2 separate regions of the Homo sapiens genome follow, and region 2 is linked to region 1. Evidence: promoter capture Hi-C in 16 types of primary human blood cells and fetal thymus (Javierre and others, 2016). All regions are on one chromosome and are shown on one strand. The core of a region is centred on a gene start or on the middle of the fragment in contact, and the rest is flanking DNA. Distances in the headings are between cores, read along the strand shown. Region 1 holds the start of MAP10 (microtubule associated protein 10). Region 2 overlaps NTPCR (nucleoside-triphosphatase, cancer-related).

What was found. The method cuts DNA at HindIII sites, captures the fragments that hold promoters and counts their contacts. A CHiCAGO score of 5 or more calls a contact.
Region 2: a contact is called between a fragment that was not itself captured here and the fragment with the promoter of MAP10 in region 1, in 1 of 17 cell types (fetal thymus). The highest score is 5.7, in fetal thymus.

What each region holds. Positions count from the first base shown.
Region 1 is chr1:232,802,178-232,810,031 of GRCh38, forward strand. MAP10 (microtubule associated protein 10) reads left to right here and starts at 3,239. Exons shown (of 1, transcript NM_019090.3): 1 at 3,239-7,752. The coding sequence starts at 3,273. The coding sequence ends at 5,990. RefSeq lists enhancers at 3,034-3,631, 3,343-3,422, 3,632-4,228. The HindIII fragment of the contact is 4,755 bases long and covers 1,676-6,430 here.
Region 2 is chr1:232,960,633-232,968,486 of GRCh38, forward strand. The region is part of intron 3 of NTPCR (nucleoside-triphosphatase, cancer-related); the gene reads left to right. Among named protein-coding and RNA genes, the nearest start is that of NTPCR, 14 kb to the left of the region's middle. The HindIII fragment of the contact is 166 bases long and covers 4,052-4,217 here.

The DNA of each region.
Region 1 (7,854 bases), core at 1,989-4,488:
AGTAATTTACATAAAAGAAGAAAATAGTGTCTCATTACTATACTAATTCAGGTCTTATATGAAGAAATTAGGTTGACATCCAACTTTTGATGTATCCTTTCAGCCCAGATCTCTCTTGTAAGTTTCATATCCATATATCTAACTTAGATCTATCTACCTGGATGTATATCATGTATCAAACTCAGCATATCACACACTGAAACTCATACTTTTCACTTGTGTCCTTCCCTACTTCTTTCTCTAATGACAGTAGCTTTTTATAGTTCAATAATCCAGTCTCTTGCCTAGCCTGACCTTGACCTGTGAAAAAAACAGCTAGCTCCTGCATGAAAAATAAAATACAGAGCATAAAACCTTTTACAGATTGAAAATAATGGGCCCACGTTGGATAAATTATTTTTTTGCTAACTACAATAGCAGTGTTTTAAACACTCAGCTAAAAAGTGTGCCATGTGGCAAATAATAAATAAAACAATATTTATTTTAACAAATATTTACTATATGCTAGGCACTGTTCTAAGAGTTTTGTAAGTATTAATTCACTTAACACACATAATATTTTTATGAGGTAGTTAGTGTAACTATATTTTTCAAATGAGGATAATGATTCACAGAGAGTTCAGAAACTAGTATAAGGTCACAGAACCAGGATTTGAGCCAGGTAGTTTGCTTCCAGAACCCAGGCGCTCAGCTACTGCACTGTGCTACTTCTCCATGTGTGGTGTAGAAACATGGGGAAAATATTTGTCATGGCAAAATTTTATTTGTTACTTTTGGCATTATTTACAAGTATAAAATATTATTCATACATTATAATACCAGTCATGTAGAGTAGCTGGGTAGAGAAGTTATTATCATTGCAGAAACTACATATTGCAGAAATAATGTCTTTATAGAAGAGGGACTTCGCTTTTTCTATTCATATGTAAGAGACATACAAGTGCTACTAGTGCACACTATTAACTTTACTCAAAAGGCTAACTACAGGATATCTTCTAAGAGGAATTTTGTCTACTGTATTTCTCTGGCGCACATGGACTCAATACCTCATTGCTTTTCACTTGTGATGATGTCTTTTTTTTATTGCTCTACATCATCTATCCATTGAGGATGTTGCTTGATATGTGTCCTCTGCAAGTATATAGCAAGATTCTCAAAGCCAAGAGAAGTATCTTGTAATTTTTTTTTTTTTTTTTAGATGGAGTCTCGCTTTGTCACCAGGCTGGAGTGCAGTGGTGCGATCTCGGCTCACTCACTGCAACCTCCAACTCCCTGGTTCAAGCGATTCTCCTGCCTCAGCCTCCCAAGTACCTGGGATTACAGGCATGCACCACCACACCCAGCTGATTTTTGTATTTTTAGTAGAGACGGGGTTTCATCATGTTGGCCAGGATGGCCTCGATCTCTTGACCTCGTGTTCTGCCTGCCTCGGCCTCCCAAAGTGCTGGGATTACAGGCGTGAGCCACCGCATCTGGTCCGAGAAGTATCTTGTATTTATATATTGCAATGAGACTTCTCTCTCACGTCTTCACACTAAAGCATCATATCCCTCCAGTTCTGAATTTCTCTTGAGCTTCACAATGTTCTTCTGAGCACTGAAGCAATATAATTTAACTATAATTTATAAAGCTGAATAAAGCGGTACATATATAATGCCCAGCAGCAGGTACCTCAAGCTTTACATATCTCAAAACTCAAAGTATTTTTTTCCGTCAAATCTGTGCCTCCTCAATATTTTCACCTTCAGTAGCAGAAGTTTTTCACCCATGACTTTTCTTTCCCATTCACCAAATTTTAAAATTCCTCCATCACAAATGCCTCTTCTGCCACCTCTTTTTAATTTCCACTAGTCCTGACCATGTGCAGGTCATAATTATCTGCCTCTTAGACCACTGCAGTAGTCTTCTAATAGATTGCTCTGAATCCAATTTCTAATTAGTAGAATCCATCCTTTGTATTCCTCCCCATGATACATTTCCAAATATTGCTATGATGTACTTATTCAATCAAAAAAATTTGGACAGAATATAGTCCAAATTCTTTACCATGGCATTCAAGGCTCTCCAAAAACTGGCCTTGGATTCCTAGCTGGCTAGCTCATTGAGGTTAGGAGTATGTTTCTTAAAATATCTGGATAGAGCAGCAAGTTCTGTGTGTCTCTGTAGATGTGTGTATATTTATGTACACACATTTGTTTTATTGATGGAATCATTAACATTACTCTCATGCATCATGATTGCTTAGCTGGAAATGTTGTCAAATAAAAAACAGGGCCAGACAGTAGTTGAAGTGGCAAAAACACTGTAGTCAGGAACTACTGCAATAAGAGAAAAGAGACCTCAATACAGAGCTGGGCTCAATTCCAATTACAGCATGGACAAGTGGGGATTTAAAGCCAAGGGGGCGTCAGGTCAAGTGGATGGAAACTTACTGATAGGGAACATCACGGGTGGGAGGGTTCTGATTAAGCAGGCCTAATAGGATTCTTGCTGAAGCCAGGCCAGGGTGGTCAGATACCAATGATAGAAAATGAAGAATTTGATCAGGTATCGACGGTAATCAGGTATGAAGGGTTGGGGGTTCTCTCTCAACAGCCGTAGCGAGACCTTTGCTACAACTCGGTGATCCAGGGTCCACAGGATTGGAAGCCAAGGTCAAGGCCTAGTCGGAAAGAAGGCTTAGATGAGCCTGACCAAAGTTCAGCCAAGGAGAGTTTTTGCCAGTGTATTCACACTCCGTGTGTGTGTGGTGTGTCTGTCTCAGTACTACTGTAATTGATGAGGCAGGGGCTCCCTGGCCATCCCAGCAGTGTCACCATCTTTTGGGTAGAACAGCAGACACAGAGATGGCCCACTGTGGACAGTTAACTAACTGGCTCTGTTTAGCATGGGAAAGGAAGGAGAGTCCTGATTTTCTTTCAATATTCCTCAGGTATATTGATCTGACCCCCAAGTTACATAAGATCTGCAGTGATAAAACCATTACCCAAAAAACTCACTGTCTTTTACCACTTATATCCTCAGCATTATCATCAATTGTCTTAATACAAGGTTGGTGGCAAAAAACGGCTCACAAGTATGCATACAAAGGGGCCAAACACATTGAGCAGCAAAACCCCCAAAGCAGACACCGCCCGAGACCCGCTGGAGCGCTTCCGCAAATCTCGCGAGATAGCAGGCAGCGATGCCTTTTGCTCCGGTTTCTCGTGAGACCCCGGGGCTTCAGCTTCTCGTTTGCGGAGCCCGCGGCGGCGTTTCCTGGGGCAACAGCAATGGCGGCCTCGCTGTCCGAGCGGCTCTTCTCGCTGGAGCTGCTGGTGGACTGGGTGCGTTTGGAAGCCCGGCTGCTGCCGTCCCCCGCTGCCGCAGTGGAGCAGGAGGAGGAAGAGGAGGAAAAGGAGCAGGGGGAGGCCTCGTCGCCGCGCGGTCTGTGCCCCGCCGTGGCCTTCCGCCTGCTGGACTTCCCCACGCTGTTGGTTTACCCTCCTGACGGCCCCGGCGCTCCCGCCGCCGAACCGTGGCCCGGTGTCATCCGCTTCGGTCGCGGCAAGTCCTGCCTCTTCCGCCTGCAGCCTGCTACCCTGCACTGCCGGCTCCTGCGGACCCCGCTTGCCACCTTGCTGCTGCAGCTGCCCCCTGGGCGCCCGACGCCCACCCCACAGCTCCTGGGGGCCTGCGACATTTCGCTGGCCACCGCAGCGCACAGGGTCGTGGGGCCGGCCGCCTCCGGATGCTCCCACCGTCACCGGGGACGTTTCCCCCTGCATAATCGAGTGGGCGAGCGGACTGGGGACATTGCACTGGCCTACCGCCTGACTGACCTGGGAAGCCGCCTGCTGAGCCAACTTGAGCGGCCCCTCACCTTCACCCGCACAGGAGGAGGAGCGGAGGTCAGTCCCCAAACCCAGCAGGAAAGACAGCAGCTGCAGCAGCCAGCCTCACAGCCAAGCCCAAAAGAGGCTGATAAGCCGCTGGGGGAGTTAGAAATCCCAGAGGCACAGAAGGATTTGAAGGAAATGGTTAAAAGTAAGGCCGAATGTGATAATGTGGGTTCTGTGGAGAATGGCAAAACCAATTCTGTTGTTACATGTTCAGGTGCTGGCAATGGGAGAAATGTTAGCTCCCTAAATGAGGAAGTCACAGAATTGGACATGGAGACCAATATATTTTGCCCTCCTCCTTTGTATTACACTAACTTGACCCAAGAAAAACCGCCCCCTGCACAGGCTAAAATCACCATTGAGCCTCAAATGAATGCACCTGAGGAAATGGATGATGCTTCTCCTGAAAAAAAGCGTGTAAATCCCCCAGCACACAGGAGTTGTCTAAAGCATCCAAGTTCTGCAGCACACGAACATCCTCCAATGCTTGTAAATCCTCCACATATTCAGAATATAGGAGCAACTAATCAAACATGTCAAACTGAACAAAATCGAATTAATACAATAAGGCAGTTGCCTTTGTTAAATGCTTTGTTAGTTGAGTTGTCCTTGTTATATGACCAACCTGTGACAAGTCCTGCTCATATACATCCTCACCTAGCCTGGTTATATAGGACTGAGGATAAGAAGTCACCCGAATCTTCTGCCAAATCCACATGCCGGTCTGAAGCCAAGAAGGATAAGCGTTCTGTGGGGGGATGTGAAAAGTCAGTGAGTCTTCAGTATAAAAAGAACCAAATTGAAAACTATAAGGAAGATAAATATTCTGAAAAGAGCAGTGGTGCCCTCCATAAAAGAGTTCCAAAAGGGAGGCTACTTTATGGCTTAACAAATACACTAAGACTACGTTTAAAGCTGACAAATCCTGATATGTTGGTGGTACATGAAAAAAGAGAACTATATAGAAAAAGACAATCACAAATGTTGGGTACAAAATTCAGAATTCCGTCATCCAAAGTTAAACTATTAAGCTCTGCAGAACAAAGTCAGAAGCCACAACTGCCTGAAGATAAGTATTTAGATTCAGATGCATCTTTCACTGAAAATAGTGATACCTCAAGACAAATCAGTGGAGTTTTTGATGAGCCCAGCACAAGTAAAGAAACTAAACTGAAATATGCAACTGAAAAAAAGACAGTTGATTGTAGTAAAAATAGAATCAATAATGTTTCATTGGAAGAAGTTGTGAGTCCTGCAAATTCCATTATTCCAGAAAGGCTTACCCCTACAAATATTCTGGGAGGAAATGTGGAAATGAAAATCCAAAGTCCATGTGTTTTCCAACAGGATGCTGTTGTTGACAGAATTGTAGATAAGGAAATAGATATTAGACAGGTCAAAACCACAGATAATGACATTCTTATGGCTGATATAAGTGACAAGAGAACAGGTAAAAATAGTTGCTATGAAAACATCTCAGAACTGAAGTATTCAGATGATTTGTCTAGCCCTTGCTATTCTGAAGATTTCTGTACCAGTGAGGACACCAGCAGAAGTTTCAAAGCTCATGATAGCAGTTCAAGGACAGAAAATCCAAAACATAGTCAATATACAAGCAAGTCTAGTGACACAGGAGTGTCCAAAAAGAAAAATAGTAGTGACAGGAGTTCTATCCTTAGCCCACCTTTTTCAGCCGGGTCACCTGTACACTCATACAGAAAATTTCATATTTCAAAGACTCAGGATAAAAGTTTGGAGGAAGCATCTAGTATCTCTGCTAGTGATTTATCTTCAACACATTGGACTGAACAAAAAGAAAACCAGATAGATCAAAATAGTATGCACAATTCTGAAATTACAAAGAGAGCTCAAGACATCTCTGTTAAAACAAGAAGTAGTTGGAAATCTTTAGAAAAAAGCCAGTCACCACAAACATCCCAGGTGAGTTCTTACCTGCCTTCAAATGTGTCCGAACTTAATGTCCTGGATAGCAGTACATCAGATCACTTTGAAGAAGGCAATGATGATGTTGGTTCACTAAATATTTCCAAGCAATGCAAAGATATTTGTGAATTAGTAATAAATAAACTTCCAGGATACACAATGTAAAAATACATGCTTTTAAAAAACTTTCAAGGACCTATGTGTACTGTTAGTGAAAAAAATTTTAAAGCTGTTTTAGTTCATGAATTATGTGAATAATTTTTTAAAGAAATATGAATTAACGTTATTCCTTTGATGTTTAAATGGTATTTTACCATTAAATCTGATAATATTGATTATTAAATCATATAAACAGATTTCTTTTTAAATTGTTTAATCATAAGAATAAAAGTGTGTCTTTCTAAATTGTCTCTCTTAAAGTGTCTAGTCTACAGTATTGATCATTCTAAAGCTGACTTCATGCACACCACTGAAAAAGAAGGCTAGTTAGTAAGGACAGCCTCAAATTTTAATTGGAACAAATTATTTAACAAATATAGAAGACTTACTGTGTTAGATGCAGAAAGGTGCAGAATCTATTTATGATAGAGCCCTGCTGTTTTAAAAGCTTACAGTTGTATGTAGATAAGAAGTCTTCCTTGACATATACATATCCCATATCCCCAATAGGTGAAGTTGCTTTTATATGCTCTCATAGTGCCCTGCACCTTTTGTTTATAAGCCACAATTTGTGTGATTACTTGATTAAAGTTTATCTTCCACTAGGCTTCAGTTGTGTGATGGGATCATATTTGTTTTACACATCAGTGCATTTTTGTATCTAGCACAATTCCTGGCATGTGGCTGCAGTGCAATAAAAACATTTGTTGAAAAAAACGAAGCCCAGGCATTTAAAATACCTAATGGGAGGGTTTAGAATTAAGCAGCAAAAATAAGCAGATTCCCTAAAATAAACCTGCAGAAAATCCTTATTGGAAATATATTTGACTGTAATATTTCTGTTTTGCTTGGTATAAATAGCCTTCAGGTGTTCTCTGAAATATTTGGAAAGGGAAACTTAAGAAGGTATCTTTTATACAGTTTCTGATATAGGAGTTCAGTTTCTTGTCATTTCAGTTTGTTCAATGGTTATTTTTAGTGTATGGAACTTTGTTTTTATGAAATCCAGTGATAATTTATAATTTATTCCATTGGTTTTATATTTAGACTTTATTCTGTGTTCAAATATTTACATATATTTTCTTCTAGCTGTGTTATACTTTAATTTTTAGACTTTTTAATATATCTAACGTTTTTGAATGTATGAAGTGAGGTTCTAATTTCCTTTCTTTAAAGGTAATTAATTATATAGGTATTCTGAATGATCATAATACTAGAATATAGATAGATGGTAAAAAGAGAGAAGAGGATGTTACATTTTGGGGAGCAATATGAATAAAAGAGTGATGGGAATGAGCCTGATATATTTATGGGACAATTTAAAATATTATCTTGAATAGAATGATCCACTCATGCTACAGAGTGGTAGAAAGGACATTTGTTGAGTAAGGAAAATGCCAGATTACAGAGAGCCTCAAATGCTAAGTATAATAATAGAATTCTAAGCAATAGGAATAACAGATTATTTTAGGTTATAAATGAGCACTAGTAAGTAGTCATGACATTTTGAATATTTTAAATTATTGAAAATAATAAGCAGAGAAATTATATCAGTTAAAGTTTTGAGATATGAAAGGTTTCTGTGGCTAGTGGCTATGATCTTAATTTTTCTAAAATATAAAGCATATAGTATAACATTTCACAAAATCAAAATATTGTAATGCCAGGTATTGTAACTAGATGTTTAATGATGTGAACTGTGTAAATTGTTTAATAGCAATTTGTCATTACTATGGAAGAGACAATAAAAATATAAGCAATATCAGAATCATCAAAGAAATAATTCCTTATAAACCAACGTTTTATTTGGTAGAGAGTAAGTCATTGTCTGTGGTAAGAATAGGTAAAATGATTAATTTAGCAAGTCTAA
Region 2 (7,854 bases), core at 2,885-5,384, 160 kb after region 1:
TGCCTAGCCTGGTTACGTTTCTTTAGGCAGGAATGGAGCCTGAGCATCGTGGTCGCTCGTGAGAAATAAAGAAAAATAGAGTGTGTGTGGTAAGTGTTCTAGACTCAGGAAGGTTTTTGGAAAGCCTCTAGTAGGGTTGACTGTTAATTTTTTTCATTCCATGAGTTAACTCTTTCCTTATTTGTCAACATTTGTTATTTTCCTGAGTATTCAAGTTCTAGATATTCATGGTTAAAAAAATTATAAAAAATGTAAAATAAAAATAAAAAACACAATGTGAATAACTCATAATCTTATCACTAAGTTAGCCAATGTTAGCTTATTTTGTTTCTGCCCCTTTTGTATACCTGGTTTATTTATTCAGTCATTCAGGATCAGGGAAAATGTTATGTATAGTTTCATAGGCTTGGTGTGTTTCCCTTAATATGATTGAGGGACATGGGAATGGTCTCACAACATGCTAATCTTCAAAGCTGGGAGATTTTAGTGGTTTCATCCTATTTCATGGTATGAGTTTTCATCTTTGATTTAACTATTACTCCCTCAGTGTTGAGCATTCAGGTTCCGTATCACCATTGTAAGTAACCTTGCAACAAAGCACCCTTTATACATGAATCTTTTTCTCTAGCCATGATTGTTTCCCTGGGGAGGGTCTAAAAGGTGAAGTCTGAGATGGTGGGGTGTGAACCTTCAAGGTCTTGATGGTGCTGCGTTGACTTTGTGTCCCACTGCCAGGGTGTGAGTGTGCTTGTCTTGCTGCGCTGTGCCAGCCCTGAGCACTCTACTTATTTTCAACACACTGCTTTGTTTTGATTTGCATTTTTCAGTTACTAATGGGGTTAAATGTTTTTCAGTTGTTCATTAAGTTTTCCTTAATTTTAGTTGTTCATCCATTGCTCTTCCCATTTATTTTCTTTGGGCTTAAATAGATGTTTTATAAAGCAGATAGCCTTTTTATATTATTGATTCTGTTTTTCTCAGTTTAGCACTTCACTTTGGTGATTATTTTCCCTTCAAGGTAGAGAAAAGTCTGTCCCTATTCCAAATTTATATAAAATTTTACCTATATATTTCTTCTTCTGCATGCTTTTTTTAAACATTTATGTTTTCAATTCATTTGGATTATGTTGAGTGTAATATGCTATGAGATTCTCAGCTGATTTTCTTCCAGATATTTAGCCAGTTTACTAAAACTGTTTGTTAAATAACCCATTTCTAATTAGTTTTTTATGCTTAATTAATTATATTAAAACTATGTGTGCTTGTATGTATAGTGTTTCAGAGTTATCTGTTCTCTTCCATTGATCTGTTTGATCCTTGCATCAGTACCATAGTATTTTAATTACCATGGTAATCGTTTTTATTTTTCTTCTTCAAAAAATGGCCTTGTTCAGAAACTGTAGTAATGGTGGCACTTGTAATAGTAAACTATTATTGAGTGCGAACTACGTGCCAGGCATGAACTCACTTAATCCTCAGAACACTATCACTCTATTCCTATTTTACAGATGAGGAAACTGAGGCATAGAATGGAAAGTTACTTGCCCAGGGACACACTAATTGTGTAAGTGGTAGAGCTGGAGTGAACTATAGAATCAAGACTTTACTATCCATTAAAAAAAATGTCTTATATGGAGTGATTGGGACTATAGTTATTTTGACATAAAGGGTGTCTTAATTTTTCAGATAATCTTAATTCTCCACAGCCCAAAACATGTTTCTCTTTCTCCATCTGTTTCTTTAAAATTTTTATTGGTGAGGTTATTCATAGGGCTCTCCTATTTTCTGGTGCTACTGGAATTAGGATTGTTTTTTCTGTTTTCTAATGATCAAGGCTGATAAGATAATGCTGGCCTTTTTCATAATGGCCTTTTTGATAGCTACCCTCAATGCTTTATTAAAATTTGATGCAATGTAAGATGTAACATTTTATTGATTTTCAACATATCTCCTACTCACACAAAATGGAGACAATAGATTATAATGTTTTAAAGAACAAAGGACATCTACTCAAAGCCCTGTTTTCCAGGTGAACAGTGTCATTTTTTACAAAGATCTGTGAAAGGAAGAGTAAGCTAAAATCAGAACACCCAGGGAAAACCAACATAGTTTGAACCTTGTATTTTCCTGTTTTGATTAAAATAAGTCTTTAAAGTATATTTGTTTTTGAGAGCAGGATCTACTTTTGGTTCTGAAATAGGCTCTGCTTTGGAAAATCTTAGAAACTTCCTTTGAAGGTGAGAGGACTCCTGTCTAGGGAAAAGTATTTTGTTTTTGTTTTTTTAGACTCGACCTGGAAGTGTTCCTTAGGTCACTCTCAGGCCACTTGGCTTTAGAAAGAATGTAGAAAAACCAAGTTCTAGTCAGGATCCATTCTTGAAAGATTGACAAGCTCCTCAGCATTGCTAGAATTTCTGTCATTGCTGTTAGCAAATGTGGCATTTGATTCTTTGTTCTCTCTCAGCTTCTGTTTCTCTACCTCATGTATTACAAGTATGTAATGCAGGATCAGCCAGGGAAATTAAAAGCTATCTGGCGCAAACAGAAAATCAGTTTTTAAACTGTCAGTAAGGACATTCCTGCAGTGAATCAGCATAAGAAAATGAGGTGAAAATTCAGCATGAGGTTGACTCTGCAGTTCATTTTGCAAGATTTGTCATGGCAAATCTTCATAATTTCTATTGAGCAGAGACTGAGACTTTATTATTTCTGATTGTTGGCGAGATTCTGTGGATTTAGATGCTAAGCAGGCTTTTGCCCTGGGTTATGACACCTTCATGTCTTTCTTCTTGCAGTCCACTCTCAAGAAACACAGAAAAGTTGCATGCTCCTTAAGTCACACGTCCCTTAAGCTGGACTGGGGTTGAGTTTGTATAAACTGTTGCCGTTTTTCTTTTTCCCTCTCACTTTGTCCCATTTCCAGCATTTCCTTCTGTCTCGCCTCCCGTGCGTATCAGTCTAAAACCACACTCCATTAGGAGGAAGTTCATACGGGGTGAGTTGGTTGTTTTCTTGAGTCTGGTACTGAGAAAGTACATACGTGTGTGTTTTCTTTTTTTGACAATTTTTTTAACTTCATTTGGATAAAATTTTACTCTTAGAGAAAGTTATAAGTGTAAGAATAGTGCAAGAACACCTGTATACTCTCATTATCCAGAGTCACCTATGTTTATCATTTGCCTTGTTTGCTTATTCTCTCTCTCTGTGTGTGTGTGTGTGTGTGTGTGTGTGTGTGTTTGTGTGTGTGTATAAATATATAAGCTGGAAGGGGGTGACTATTTGAGAATACGTTGCAATCATCAAGGTACTTTACTCCTAAATGTTCAGTATATTTTTCCTAAAAATAAGGATATGCTTTTACATAATCAATACAGTTATCAACCTCTGTAAATCTTACATTGAAAAAATACTTTAATCTATCGTTAGTGTTCTAGTTTCATCAGTTGACAATATTCTTTGTAACATTTCTTTTCCTCCAGATGTTACACTTAGTTGTCACATCTCCATAGCCTCCGTTAATTTGGAACATTTCCACAGTCATTCTTTGTCTTCCAGGACATTGACATTTGTAAAGAATATAGTTCCAATTTAAAAGAACGTTCATCTTTTGGAGTTTTTCTGATGTTTCCTCATGACCAAATAAAGCTGGAATACTCCATAAGTCATAAGTGATGATGCATCCTTCTCGAGTATCTCATCTGGAGGTGTGTGATGTTTAGTGATATTAATTTTGATTACCTGATCAAGGACTTGTCCTATTTCTCCACTGTATAGTTACTATTTTTTTCTTTGACACTAATGAGCAGTGAGTGGGGAGATAGTGTGAGACCATGCACATCCTCCTCATCAGATTTCCCCTAGCCAATTCTAATTTTATCTAAACTTTATTAGATCATCTTAAGATAAAAATAATTTTCTCTTGAGGCCTTAATTGGCAAGCAGATTTAACTACTCTCTTTTGAAATTGTTTCTCTAGCAAGGTGAGCAGTAATTAACAAACATAAAATTACTATACATTGAAGCTGCACTAAAAAAAATGCCATAATGGTTAAGCTTTTTTCCACTCTAAGCTGTGCTTCTCTCTATTTGTATCCGGTTACCTCCCCATTAGAAAAGCCATCACCATTTTATTATAGGAAAAACAATCAGTTCTTTCTCCTCAGGCAGTTTCTAATGAAAACGGTATCAGGTATCAGAGATACTAAACATTTACCAAAAGCTTAAATATTGATGAAAATTTTTACTAAGCAAGTGAAATTTTTTTTAATTTGGTTTTTGTAAACACTGGCAGGAAGGTGGACATATCAGGATACCTGGTCATAACTCTTCCACCGTCTTCTCGGGGTGTGCTCCTGGTAGAGGAGAGAAGTCCTTTTACTTTATCATATCTGCCTACTGCAGTGGGCCATTCGCTATCCATACTTGATGAAATAATTTTGGTGATATTATTCTCAGACCCAAAATATGAGTTATTTTCGAGTAATTTAGAGCAATATGATTACTCCAAATAAATTGAGGTTTTGTGCCTATGCCTCCATAGATCCCTAAACACCAGAGTGCTATTCGTTCTTATTGGAGAGGAAAGCAGTTTCTTCGTGGTTAGGTCAGTTTCCTAGATGCTATTCTTTATTTCAGAATCAAAGTGTGGAGGCGTATTGCACACAGGGTGTGGAAGAGAGCTTTGAAGTCAGGTGATCTCTGGTTTGACTCCAGCTCTGTCACTGTGCTCTCAGTGAGTTTTGAGTAAATCCCTTAATGCCTAATTTCCTTTCCTCATCTGTGAAACAGATGCTGTTACCTGCTATGTGAAGTTGCTGGGAGGACTGAATGTAATGCTTGTAAAGTGCCTTGGCCCCTGGCTCCTAGGAGGTGCTCAGCAGAGCAATAGCAGTGATTATTTTCTTGAGAAGTTAATTGAGGTGGTGGATGGCAGTACCTTGAGAGGAGCCTCCCTTCACAATTTGGTTTGTGTTTGCCAGGGAGCTGGGGTCCGGAGTGGGATAGTAATCTGTCATGGAGTCCCAGGAGCCCAAATGTGCAGGCCAGTCCCAAGTGCTCAGAGCATGAGGAGGACGAGGAGTACTGGGCTCTCCGTCTCACTGGACTGACTGTCAGCCAGGAGGTGTTGTTTCAGTCCCAAGATAGCTTGGAAAACCCCATGGCTACCATTCAAGCGCTCTTCAGTCGGGTGACCATGTGGGTGAGCCCCTGTGAGTCCCGAGAGGCCATTTAGGACATCCAGGAAGAGCCTCAGAGCTAGTCTGTCTGTGTGCCGGGGTGAGGATCTCTGGCATGTCCGGGGGAGCAGCTTCTGCCCGGAGTATTCTTGACTGGGGAAGGGCCGGGTTACCAGGCGCCATCGGGCAGTCTAGACACCTTGTCCTGGCTATGCCCTGGAGACTCACAGTCCATATGCCACCAGACAGCAAAGGGATTATGAGACTTGAAGGCTTGGAATAAACACACATAAAATATGACCGGAGCCCTGCATTTTTAGCTAATAACTTCAGTGGGTGAGGAATTGTGGGCTGGCTCAGAGATGGCTGCTGTTAGCACCATTTGCCTTTCTGCTTCCCTAGAACTTGCTGCTGTTTGGCGAAGGGCTGCAGTTTTGCTGCCTAACTTCTGAGAGACACTCCTTATTCACTTTCATGACTTTCCATACTTGCTGTCCCAGGTGGGTAAGCTCAGGAGCTAGTCTGTGTGTCTGATATTAAAATAAAACAATCCAAACAGTCCTCCTAAAATTAACATTAATACCACTGGAAACATTTATTATGCAAATAATTCAGAATAAGGCAAAGACCACTTGGATTAGCTTGCTCTCAGTTTGATATTTTGGTTAAATGAAATTATTTTATATTTATATGTTCTTTGTATTTTTAAAAGTACATATAAAAATAAAGGACCCAAAAAAATCACACTATTTTCAGGTCTCTGATATAACTGGTACGAAGATATTTGTTGTTCTAATCTTTCTGGAAAGCAAACTAGGTGAGTGTAACCAAAGTTATAAAATTATTCGTAGCTTCTCTTATCCCTGGCTGGTCAATTTTAGGACTCTATCTAAGGAAATATCTTCTCTCCCGGAACAGGGAAACTAAAAGTGCGCTTCATGGCTGAACATTTATAATCAGCTGAAGTGGAAGCCTGTGAGGGGTGTGGCCAGGAAGGCTAGTGTGTTACATAGGACTGAGGTGTGGCACTAGGAAGCAATGCTGCCTGGGTTGTTCTCTGAGGAGAGGCTGTGAGGGGAGGAAAGGGTGCTCCCCAGTTGGTGTGTACACCCCAGATGGTGTGTACATCGTGATTCTGACCACGTGGCTGAGAGCCACCTACAGTTTTTACACACTCCTTACTCCAGCAGCTGTAGGTGGAGTTTCTCTGGGAGCTCATTAGGACTCTCCTCACACTGGGGGTTGGGGAGGGGTTCCTGACCATCTTCAAACCTGGGCCCCTATTGTTCTAAGTCTGTGTCTCTATCAATTTAGAACAATGTAAAGGGGGTGAATGTTTGTTTACTTACTTATTTCTTTGTTTCCCTCTAAAGTTGCTTGAATTTATATAGAAATAAAACCATGTTACACGTTATAGTGGTTCTTTTTTTAAGACCTTGAGTGTATGATCTTGTACTATTTAGAAAAGCAGGCTGAGTGTCTACATGCTTCAGAGTGGCTCAGCAGCTGACATCTTTCTCTCAACTGAATATGAATAACTTGCATTTTTAATTAAAAATCACAGATTTATTTTTGAGATTCCTGAAGTTCTTGGATTATAAAATTCCCCAATTCTGGACAGATTGAGGATTTTATGTAAGCTAAGGTTTTAAAATGAGGATTTCCAATTGGTAGAAAGTAATGTATACATGTGTGTCCAAATTCTTTTGTGCTGAAACTTAAATAAATGTTGATGAGCTTTCACTGGTGAATGTTCTAGAGGATTGCAGGAAGGCTGGTTGTTGAAGAGCCACACACTTTCTACCTGTACGTGTGTATTTACACATGGCCACGTGCATTTTACTACCCTCATGTATATAGTCAAATAAATACATGTGCATGTGTACACACATTCTTTCATATCACTTCTTGTCTGATTTGGCACCTTCCAAAACTCATTTTGAGGTGCCAGAATAAGTTTTATTTTGGCTTTTAGATGACAGCCTCCAGAGGAATGGCATCCACAATTACTCTTCGTCTCTGGGGGCAGCAAAATGTCCACAGCACTTGGGAACAGTCGGGTCAGTTGGAGTGGCATGCCCCCAGGAAGACAGAAACCTTCTTGTACAGTTGTCTGTTTTTATTATCATAGACAGGTGGTTGATAGCTGTTTTATTTCTCCCAAATATGGCTTTCGTTTTGGAGGAAAAACTTGGAATAAGTAGTGACTTACTTCATAGATGCTCTGCCCTTCTCCCCGACCCCACCAGTGGAGGGTGACATTGCTCCTTCAGCTCCCCACTTCTCAGCTCTGGGACATCGGTGAGTTCCCCAGGAAGGATGCGGACGAGGACAACCATGTACCTGCCCTAAGTGGGGAGACCAGGCGTGTGTACAGATAAACTTAATAGAGAGGCAAAAATGAAGCATGTCAGAAACACAGAAGTGCGGAGATTGTTCAGACCTCTCTTGGGTGATTACAGTGGACTCCTTATTGATCTTTTAGCTAATAAAATGAATGGAAAAATATTTCATAAGTGTACAATATGCAGTAGGAAAATAGAGTACTGTTTACTTAAAAGTCTGAAAAACACTGCTGTACTGCTTCCGTGCAATCACAACTGGGGTTTAGACACCCACTATCTTATCTTGTCTATTCCAAAAGGAGTCTAACATTTGTTTCTGACTCCACAGCCAG